Linked DNA regions of Homo sapiens: all the other regions are linked to region 3. The links are contacts of gene promoters, found by promoter capture Hi-C in blood cells and fetal thymus (Javierre and others, 2016). All regions are on one chromosome and are shown on one strand. The core of a region is centred on a gene start or on the middle of the fragment in contact, and the rest is flanking DNA. Distances in the headings are between cores, read along the strand shown. Region 1 overlaps CAMK1G (calcium/calmodulin dependent protein kinase IG). Region 2 overlaps LAMB3 (laminin subunit beta 3). Region 3 holds the start of IRF6 (interferon regulatory factor 6).

Region 1 (3,323 bases), core at 158-2,657, 210 kb after region 3:
GAAGCTGGCAATGCTAACATTAATTTATCAATTATTCACTCAATGAACAAACATTTATTGAGCACAAATACTGTTGATACAAGGCAATAATAAGAAAAATGACATGGTCCTTGCTCTCAATTAGTTGAGAGTCTTTCTTTGCCCTAATATCCCTGGATCCTAGACCTGTGTCTCCAGCATGTTATGAAATGCCTTCATGTTGAGATAGGTGGATACTCATATTCAGTATGTTCCAACCAATTTCTTTCTATTTCATCCAAGCCTACATATCCTCTTTGTTCTCCACCCCTAGCAATTATATTGTTGTCCACTTGATTGCTCAATCTCAGGGTCTCTTTTTATGCTTTTGTCCTGTATACTTTCACTAGTCAACCCCAAACCCAATCACTTCTCTCTTTGAAACATCTCTAGTATCTAGTCCTTTTAGGCACATATGATTCTGCCACTACCTTTGCTTGTATTCTCAACCCATGCCTAAATTATTGTGAAAGTCTTATAATTAGCCTCCTGTCCTCTAGGCTGGCACCCTCCAATCCATCCTCCACTGTGCCTGAGAGGGATAGCTCCAACATGTTAATCAGACAATGTGACTCCTCACTTAAAATCCTTTGATGACTTCTTTTTGCCCACAGAATAAAGCCAACATTCCTTATCATGGCATCTAAGATCCTTTGTAATCAGGTCTCATTTCATGATTTTAGTTTCATCACTTGTCTTTTAATACTATATACTCTAAATTCAGGGATTTCCAATACTCACTCTTCCCTAAAAGCCCTTGCACTTTCATGGTTCTACATTAAAGTTTATGCTAGTCTTGGCCTGAATTCCCTTTCTGCATTGCCTTTCTTGCCCCCACAAAGTTTGACTCATCTATCAAGGTCCATCTTCTTTGAAAGTGGTCCAATAACTCATACTCATAAAAACATATGCATAGGCAAAATGAATCTTTATCTCCTCCAAACTCTGCCTTCTGCTAGTGTGACTCACATCCGATTTTGTTGGATTTTCTTATAGGCACCTCTGTATCCAGCATAGGCTCCTGAGGGTAAGGAATTTTGTCTGCCTCATCCTTGTGGTTCTGATCCTGTGTTCATGTGCCTAATACACTTTTGGTACACCATAAGGGTTTCACAAGGGTCTGTGGTAAGAGTCTTGCTGTAAACATATGATGATTTGTAGTGTTGCCTTCATCAAGATGGTTGGGGTGCTGAACCTCCATTTGCTTTGTTATAAATTGAAGCTAATTTCCAAATCTTATGCTGCCTCCTTAATTATTAATTGTTCCTGATGTTGGCCCTCAATTGATTTTTGTTCCTTTGAGCTAATTACTCTCCAGCCTGTGTGCACAAACCAGTTCTGCCACCAGTGGATTTGCTCATCAATTTGTTGCCAAAAAAAAAAAAATCAGCTAGGACAGCTGTCCGACTAAACTTAGCTAATTGACTGAACTGACCCATCAACTCAATCAAAGTGAGCAATGCCTTTGGGTGCAGAAATCCAGTCCTAGTCCTTTTTGAAGGTAATTTGTGAAGAAAATGTTGTGATCCCATAGTGATCCAGTCAACACTAAGACCCACTCACTTTTTCAACACAGCAATCTCATTCTCCAGGCTGCTGTCCCGGAAGGCAGGTGACTTCTTGATGCACTTCAGAGCAAAGAGCTTCCCAGTCAGTCTTTGCTTCACCAGGAAAACTTCTGAGAAAGCTCCTCTGAGGAGAAGACACCAAAAGATAAAACTTAGTAGGGGGCAGACATCTTACACTTCCAGATGTAAGACCTCAGAAAGGACGTAACAGAGTCTATATAGTCCTCTGACCACAAAGGCATATACTGAATTTAAATCTGGAAGAAACATCAGGAAAGCACAAAATTTAAAAAAGGGAAGGGGGGAACCTGTATTCTTCCAAAATGCCAATGTCATAAAAAAGCTAGGGAGAGATAACACCCAAGTGAAATATCAGACCCTAGACTGGAACCTGTACTGGAGGGGAAAAATGCTATAAAACACATAATAGGGTCAATTGATAAAACTGGAGTAGGGAAGACAGACTAGGTACACTTAATGTGTCCATGTTCAATTGACTGAAGTTGAGAACTGTCCTATGGTCACGTAAGGGAATACCCCATCCCTAGAAATATACACAAATGTCCTTGATAGGTAAAGGTTCATGATGTCTGTCCACAACTAACGCTTGGGAGATTAGGAAAGAATCATCTTTCTACATCTATCTCTACAGATCTACAGAGAACATAGCAATGAGAAGGCAGATGGGAGAAATTGTGAACAAGAGGTGAATCTGGGCAGGGGGCATTTGGAAATTCTTTCTACCATTCTTATTCTTATTTTATTTTATTATTTTTTTAGAGATGGGGCTTCACTATGTTGCTGATCTGGTTAGGCTTTGTGTCCCCACTCAAATCTCATCTTGAATTATAATCCCCATAATCCTCATAATCCCCATGTGTCAAGGGAGAGACCAGGTAGAGGTGATTGGCTCATGGGAGCAGTTTCCCTCATGATGTTCTCAGGATAGTGAGTGAGTTCTCACGGGATCTGATGGTTTTATAAGGGGCTCTTCCCCCTTTGCTTGGCACTTCTTCCTGCCGCCTTGTGAAGAAGGTGCCTTACTTCCCCTTCACCTTCTGCCATGATTGTCAGTTTCCTGGGGCCACCTCAGCCATGCTGAACTGTGAGTTAATTAAACCTCTTTCCTTTATAAATTGCCCAGTCTCAAGCTGTTCTTCATAGCAGTATAAAAATAGACTAACCCAGTTGCCCAAACTGGTCTTGAACTCCTGGGATCAAGCAGCTCTTCTCCTTTGGCTTTCCAAAGCGTTGGGATTACAGGTATGAGCCACCAAGCCTGGCGTTATTCTTATTTTTGAAACGTTTTTCTAAGTTTGAAATTATTTCCAACTAAAAAGTTAAACAATCAAACTTAGAGGCAAAGTGAAAGGGTAGATGAGGGAAGGACTGATAATTACTCTTCATTGTCATGTGGGCGCTGCTGAGTTATGTTGATGGCAGTTGTATCTGACATGCTAATGTGCTTTCTAATTTGAAGACCATATTGGAAGAAAAAGATGCCACCACAGATTCAGGGGCTAGGCAGGTGTTATTTCCTGGTTCTATAGTTTGGGAATGACCCCTAGAGACAGAGACTCCACTGCAGCTGTGGAGAGATTTCTTCACTTGGCATGCCCACTAAAAAGAAGCCACTACAGAGTCAATTCATGCCACTTTCAATGTGACTCAGGATGGCACACTGGAGTGGCAGCTGGAGGTAGCAGATGGGACAGAGTGCAGATACAGTGAGAACAA
Region 2 (3,537 bases), core at 495-2,994, 170 kb after region 3:
ACAAACAAACAAACAAAAAACAGAAGATATGACTGAGTAAGAGTGAACGTGGGGAAAGGGGAAATCAGATGAAGCTTACTAGGGAGATCAGGCAGGAGGGGACCCTGAAGCTGGAGAGACAGGCCTGGGCCTGGTTCAGTATCTGCTTTGGAGGCTGAGTTTATTATAGACCTGCAGTTCCAGGAAGTTGTTCAAGCTGGGAGCTGTCAGCATAAAGACCACATTTAAAGCCACCCAAAATGGATGAAATCATTTTGTAGGAAGGAGCAGGGACTCAATATGTCATGCTAAGGTGCTCAGTTTATATCATGAGATCAATGCAGACTGATTGAAGCTCTCACAGATCAGATAATCACCCAGGAAGAGCTCTCTGGTGAGTGGGGAATGTGGTTTGGAGGGCCATGACAGAGGAGGCTGGACATGAGTTCCAGGAGAGAGACAGAGAGAGGAGAGAGAGAGAGAGAGAGAGAGAGAGAGAGAGAGAGAGAATAAAAAATGGTCAACTGTGCGAAGTGTAGGAGCAGAGAAATGTCTATCCTGGAAGCCTGGTGAGCTGAGCTAGGGATCACTCCTGGAAGGCAGATCCTGGGAGAAACTTCTGTGGCCTGTGGTATGCCAGGAGGTTTGGACCCGGATGCTCCGAGCCCACTTGCTCCCACTGGGCCCCCTTTCTCCCGAGTTCACTGGAGGAGCCTGTCTCTCTGCTTGTGTCTCCACGGGGCACAGCCCCAGTGCCTCCCCTCTGCACACTGCCCCTGTCTCCACAGGGGCCCATGCCCGCCGGCATGCTGATTGAGCGCTCCTCAGACTTCGGTAAGACCTGGCGAGTGTACCAGTACCTGGCTGCCGACTGCACCTCCACCTTCCCTCGGGTCCGCCAGGGTCGGCCTCAGAGCTGGCAGGATGTTCGGTGCCAGTCCCTGCCTCAGAGGCCTAATGCACGCCTAAATGGGGGGAAGGTAGGTAGAGGGAATCCTGAAAAGTAGGCCTGGGGAGAAATCCCTGATGTCCCACTGTTCACACAGCCACACGGACTCCTGAGAAGGGACGGAAACACCCTCGCCAGCTCCCCTTGCTGACTTTCCTGAATTCCCACCAGTAATGACCCCTGTGGCCACCCTCAAAACATTTGCTGCTTATCCTCTTTGCTGAGGAAGGATATTTCAGCAACACCTTGGGGCCACCGCATTACTCACCCCTGCCGTCTTCCACAGCCCCCTCCCCCGTGACTCATTGGCTCATCCCTCTAGTGGGAAGATGAAATCGACCCTACTTTGATATGAGGACTTTGGGATGCTAGTTAGATGCAAGTGAGCAAATTACACAAATTTCATTTCACCTTGGTAGGGTTTAACACAAAAATAAACATTTTCAGTTTAATCTATCCATCTAACCCAGTCTTAGCCCTTGGAGGGAATTCTGGTAAACCCAGAGCCCGAATTCTCCTGAGCTTAAACCCTGAGCTAGAAATAAGAACCTGCCTGAAGAAAAACTCAGAATGTTTCTCCCTAAGTCCTCCCAACGTGGGTCAAATTCTTTCATAACTGCGTTTCCCCATCCCCTGGCAGAGGAGGCTGTAGTTTCTCTTCTCCTTTCCCTGGCTGAGACACAGGTGAGCCCTCAGAGCTGCTCTCATGTGGACCGATGCTCAGAGTGGGGCCCTCTATGCAGGCCATGCAACTCTTCCTTTGGTTTTAGCAGTTCCTCCTTGGTTATACCCTTACGCAAATCTATGTTAACTACATTCTTCACACACCAGATAAGAACTTTTTCCTAACTTGTGGAGGGCTGATGTGAAAACTCTTCCTGGGATATGTAGATGATGAGTGGATTTTTTTTTTTTGAATAAATCAAAGCATAGTTGAAACTGGGATTGTCCAGAGTGCTGTGGTCACCCACATTCACGCATCCTTGGGTTTTAGATTTCTCACTCATCCTGAGTCATCAGAAAATTAGTATCTCCTAAACCCTTATATGTAGATGATATATCTTACCATACTTTTTGACCCAGGGAACTCAGAAAATTCTTAGGATACTTATATTTTCAACTGGCAGGGGTTGGGGGTGGGGTACACACACACACACGTTTAGGGCCCAGTGATCATCTTTCTCCCCCACAGCAGATGACAAGCCTCATAGCCATGGTCTATCTCAGGTTCCAGGTAACAAGGACTTCAAGTGTGAGGCATATAATGGAAAGAAAGGTTTCTTCTGAACTCGGGGCACACTATTTGTCTCTTCTTCAGCGCTTCTCTTTCCCTTCCCTCTGTAGGTCCAACTTAACCTTATGGATTTAGTGTCTGGGATTCCAGCAACTCAAAGTCAAAAAATTCAAGGTCAGTGTGGTTACTTCTCTTGTCCATGGAACTATGGGTGGGAAAGGAAACAGAGTTGGAGCCCAGGTCATGGAAATTTCCTGGTCTTTCATGTTTTTGTCAACGTGGTTGGGGATTTGATACTTGCCCTGCTTGCCCCATAGGGATATTGTCTGTGGGATGCTATGGGATGGTTGAGGTCTGGAGAGGATGGCCCACGGTATCACATATGAAGGAGACTCTATGTGCCTCTAACTTCCTTTCTTTATTTTCCATTCTCCAACTCTTCCCTCCTTGCTGTTTGGCCCTCTCAGAGGTGGGGGAGATCACAAACTTGAGAGTCAATTTCACCAGGCTGGCCCCTGTGCCCCAAAGGGGCTACCACCCTCCCAGCGCCTACTATGCTGTGTCCCAGCTCCGTCTGCAGGGGAGCTGCTTCTGTCACGGCCATGCTGATCGCTGCGCACCCAAGCCTGGGGCCTCTGCAGGCCCCTCCACCGCTGTGCAGGTAACAGCCTAGGGTGGGAAGGGGAGAGGAAGGGGGCAGGACCAGGGCAGACTACAGACATTCTTGGGGCTCCTGTAAAGCAGGAAGGGCACTAAATCTAAGACTTGGGTATTTAATACTTCAGCAGCAACAACAAAAAATCGAAGTGGTTTTCGTTCCAAAAATCAGAATCATTTAGTACTTCTTTAGATCTGCTTCCTAATTTGAGATGATTTTCATTTCATTTACATAAGTGTGGAAATTGGGAGGGAGTTTAAGCCAATGATTCTCAACCCTCGTTATGCATTATAATTTCACTGAGAGCTAAAAATGTTGCCCAGCCCTCCACCCTAAGATATTCTAATTTTATGATTGGCTTTTAAAGCTCCCAGGTGACTCGAATGTACTGCCAGGTCTGAGAGCCACTGGTTTGGGGATTTTAAAGTCTCAGCTAGTGGTGAGATATGGGGCACGGTGAGAGACCAATGTTTAGTACAGATGCTAAGTCTACCCTAGACCAGGCGGATTGGCTTCAGCAGGGATGGGGTTTGAGACGTTCCAGTTTAACAAGCCCTCCCCTCCCAAGGGGTTTTGCTGTGAAACCAAGCTTGAGAACCACAGGTAGAGAAGAGAGAACCTTGAGCAAAGAAGCAGAGGGACCCAACATGGGAGCGTGACAGCTGTCCTAGTGACAGGGGGACAGGAGGAAATCATGTAAGATGGCCTGAGTGGGAA
Region 3 (3,350 bases), core at 499-2,998:
TGCCTCTGTGTCCAAATCTCCTCCTTTTATAAGGACACCATTCATATTGGATTCAGGCTCACCCTAATAACCACGTTTTAACTTGATTACCTCCATAAGGATCCTGTCTCCCAATAAGGTCATATTCTGACATCTGGCTGTGGTTGCAGTGGGGGTGGTCAGGACTTCAAAATACAAATACAAATTTTTTTGTATGTGGGTGACAGTTCAACTCATTGTACCACTCCTCCACAGTTTCTCACTCATTACTTTAAACACCAAAACCTAAGTGACCTGCGCATGCCCCATTTCACCTACGACAGCTCAGTGGTTGAGGGTGGGGGATTTTTAAAAGTCTCATTTACTGTTGCACAGCCTCCTGCAAACCGGTCCTCTAGATAGATGAGGAAGGTGAGGGCAATCTCATCAAGCACCTGTTAGGGTACATGCAGGACTTGAATTTCAGGTAATAACAAGGAATGCCTTCTTGTTCTCTGACGCACTGTCTATATGGTATTTTTAATCTTTATGCCAATAATAATTGCAAGTACATATAAAGCACTTGATAAGTGCTAAATATTGTTGCAAGCAGTTTACATGTAGTTATTGAATTCCCACAATACCCCTGAGGTAGGTACTATTACTAACCTCTTTCTACAGATAAGACACCAGGGCCTAAAAAGCTTAAGAAACTTTCCCAAGTCTGTAGTAACTGATGGAGTTGGGGTCTAAACCCCAATAGTTGGCTCCAGAGGCTATGCTTTTACTCATTACACGATAGTGATCAGAGGAAGCAGGAACTCCAGTCTGGGCAACATAGTCAGACCCTGTCTCTAAAAAAAAAAAAAAAAAATTAGCCGGGCATGGTGACCCATGCCTATATTTCCAGTTACTTGGGAGGGTGAGGTGGGATAATTGCTTGAGCCCAGGAGGTTGAGCTATGATTGTGCCACTGCATTCTAGCCTGGATGACAGAGCCAGACCCTGCCTAAAAAAAAAAAAAAAAAAAAAAAAAGGAATTGAACTGGGTGCCAGTGCCTGTAATCCCAGCACTTTGCGAGGCTGAGGCGGATCCCTTGAGCCCAGGTGTTGCAGACCAGACTGTGTAACTTAATAGCAAGACCCCATCTCCAAAAAAAAAAAAAAAAAAAAAGGAAGAAAAAAGAAAGAGAAAAAAGCAAACAACAACAAAAAAGAAGGAAGGAATTATTATTCTCATTGAAGAGATGAGGAAACTGAAACCAAGAAGCCAAGAAGCTAAGTAACTTACCCAGGGTCACACGGGTAAGAGGCAGAGTAAAGGTAGAATTCTAGTCCTGAAAGCCTATGGCTTCTCCCAGACAGGACCAAGTGTCCTGGTTCTCTTCTTCATGTGCAACTCCACTTACACAGGCCCACGAGTAGTAGGGCCAACCCAGAATCTCAAAACCCTTATTTGTGCTTAACTGTCTGCATACTGCAGGGTAATTATGGGCCGTGAAGGAGGGAGGCACCCTCTCGACTTAGATCTGAACTCCCAGTCGCTTCCAGTTCCCAGGACCACCAGCCCTGAGCCGTAAGGCTAGGCCTGAATCTGGGACTTTCTTAGCCGGAGTTAGAAGCGGAGGAGTAGGGTGGGACGCTGGACGGACGCCGCTGGGCCGGGCAGCCCAGAAACGCGGAGTGTCATATTTCTTGCAACTCGCCAATCCCGAACGCCGGGGGGCGTGGCCACACCTGGGAGGCGTGGCCGGGCGGATGCGAAGGCTGCGGCGTCCTGGGGCGAGGCGCTGACGTGAGCTCGGCGCACCTGGGCTGGGCAGGTAAGGGCTGGTGCGGGACGGGGAGAGGAACCTGCAGTCCCTACTTGGGTAGAGCCAGGCGCCCCTTGGCTAAGACGTCGAGGAGCGTGGTAGCGACGGGTGATCTTCGCTGCGGACTTGGTTCGGAGGGACGTCCGCTTCTGGTGGACAGATTGAGCAAAGGTGGGTACGCCAACTTCTGGGGACCAGCTTGAGGGAGGAGAGGCTCCCCCGTGGGTGGGGTAGGACCCATCCCCGGAGTTTGTAGGGGGTGAGAGAACTTGCTTGGGGGCATCTGTGTGTTTGGGGTGGGTACCCACTGGGGCTGGGTGCCTGTCGCCCTTTTCCAGATAGCTTTGGGGCGGCCTCAGTTCTGTAGCGCTAGGCCCCTCTCGAATCTACACTTGTGTCTACTCTCCCTACCCCCACCGCCGAAGCGGAGGGCACTGCTCTCGGCCGTCAACAACCCCACTATCCGGTAGAGCTAAAGCACCGCGCCCCCTTCAGTCTTACCAACTTGCGGCTGGCCCCTGTGTCCCAGAGAGGGGACTTCCCAGGTCCGCAGGTCCTTGATCCTAGTGGGCGTTTTGGGAAACTGGAGTGAGGGTGGCCAGGAGCTTTGGAGCATTGGCGGTTTGTCTTCCCTCCCTGAGTCTGTTTGGCACAGTTAGGCCCTTCGCCCTGGGCCTGGGAGACAACCTTGGATTTCCAAGGAGCGGAGCTAGGTGCTGGGGAGGGTGGCGCTGGGGTGTGGTTGCTCTGGGGGTGGGCCCTCTTTGCCCGAAGGGGCTGGAGGGTGGTGTGGAGAATGGGGAAAGTCTCCCAGGCCTGACTTGGAAAGGAGGCCTGAGGTGTCACTCTTTACAGGGAGCCTGCTTTGTGGTAAAGGGGTCATCCTGTTCCAACCTGTTCTCTTGGTGGATGTCAAGAGTGGAAGTCAGGGAAAAGAGATGGATAGAGAGAGGAAGGCGCTTGGGTGGGATTGGTGAAAGCTGGTGTTGACCCAGGAGTGTGGTTTAGGATGAGACGTGTGTATGATGTATGACAGTGGCACTCAATACCTTGTAACTCCCATTCGCCATCCCCCAGCTTCCATCCAGCAGAAGGGAAGGGTGTGGGCATTTTGACTAGAGGCCTGCAGTTTACCCCTAAGCAGGGCTAAACAGGGAAGCCTGAGGAACGGAACTTAGACGATGGCATTTCATTTCTTTCAGGAGAAAGGGAAGAGCTGGGACTGCTAAGAATTGTCTGCGAGAAATGGCGTGTGTTTTAACCTGAGCAAAACCACTGACGGCCAAATCTCGGCTTTTGTGTGGCAGTGCCCCTGGAAACTAGTCTGGGGAGGAGCTATGGAGGTGGCAATGAGGGTGTTTATGGAGGACCTGCTCCCTAGAATAGGGGTATGGGAGAGGACAGTTATGCTCGGAGGAGGCTGAAAGTGTCCCTCCTCTATGCTCACTGTGAGGGGAATAGATAGGTTAGCATCATTGTCCTTTGGCTGTTTAAGTACCTGTTAGAGACACAGGCCTTACATTTTGCTGTGATGGCAGCTAGAGATACCAAGATGAGTTCAACTAGGCTAAGGTGGTT

Evidence for each region. Contacts are between HindIII fragments. The CHiCAGO score rates a contact against its expected background, and 5 or more counts as called.
Region 1: a contact is called between a fragment that was not itself captured here and the fragment with the promoter of IRF6 in region 3, in 1 of 17 cell types (naive CD8 T cells). The highest score is 5.7, in naive CD8 T cells.
Region 2: a fragment that was not itself captured here is called in contact with the fragment with the promoter of IRF6 in region 3 in 1 of 17 cell types (neutrophils); the score reaches 7.6 in neutrophils.

Annotation. Positions count from the first base shown.
Region 1 is chr1:209,598,370-209,601,692 of GRCh38, reverse strand. It overlaps CAMK1G (calcium/calmodulin dependent protein kinase IG), which reads right to left. Exons shown (of 13, transcript NM_020439.3): 3 at 1,582-1,710. Among named protein-coding and RNA genes, the nearest start is that of CAMK1G, 16 kb to the right of the region's middle. The HindIII fragment of the contact is 4,679 bases long and covers 1-3,323 here.
Region 2 is chr1:209,631,869-209,635,405 of GRCh38, reverse strand. It overlaps LAMB3 (laminin subunit beta 3), which reads left to right. Exons shown (of 23, transcript NM_000228.3): 6 at 768-959; 7 at 2,273-2,336; 8 at 2,630-2,823. Among named protein-coding and RNA genes, the nearest start is that of MIR4260, 10 kb to the right of the region's middle. The HindIII fragment of the contact is 3,335 bases long and covers 77-3,411 here.
Region 3 is chr1:209,804,540-209,807,889 of GRCh38, reverse strand. It overlaps IRF6 (interferon regulatory factor 6), which reads left to right and starts at 1,748. Exons shown (of 9, transcript NM_006147.4): 1 at 1,748-1,943. RefSeq lists a silencer at 1,483-1,826. The HindIII fragment of the contact is 4,987 bases long and covers 665-3,350 here.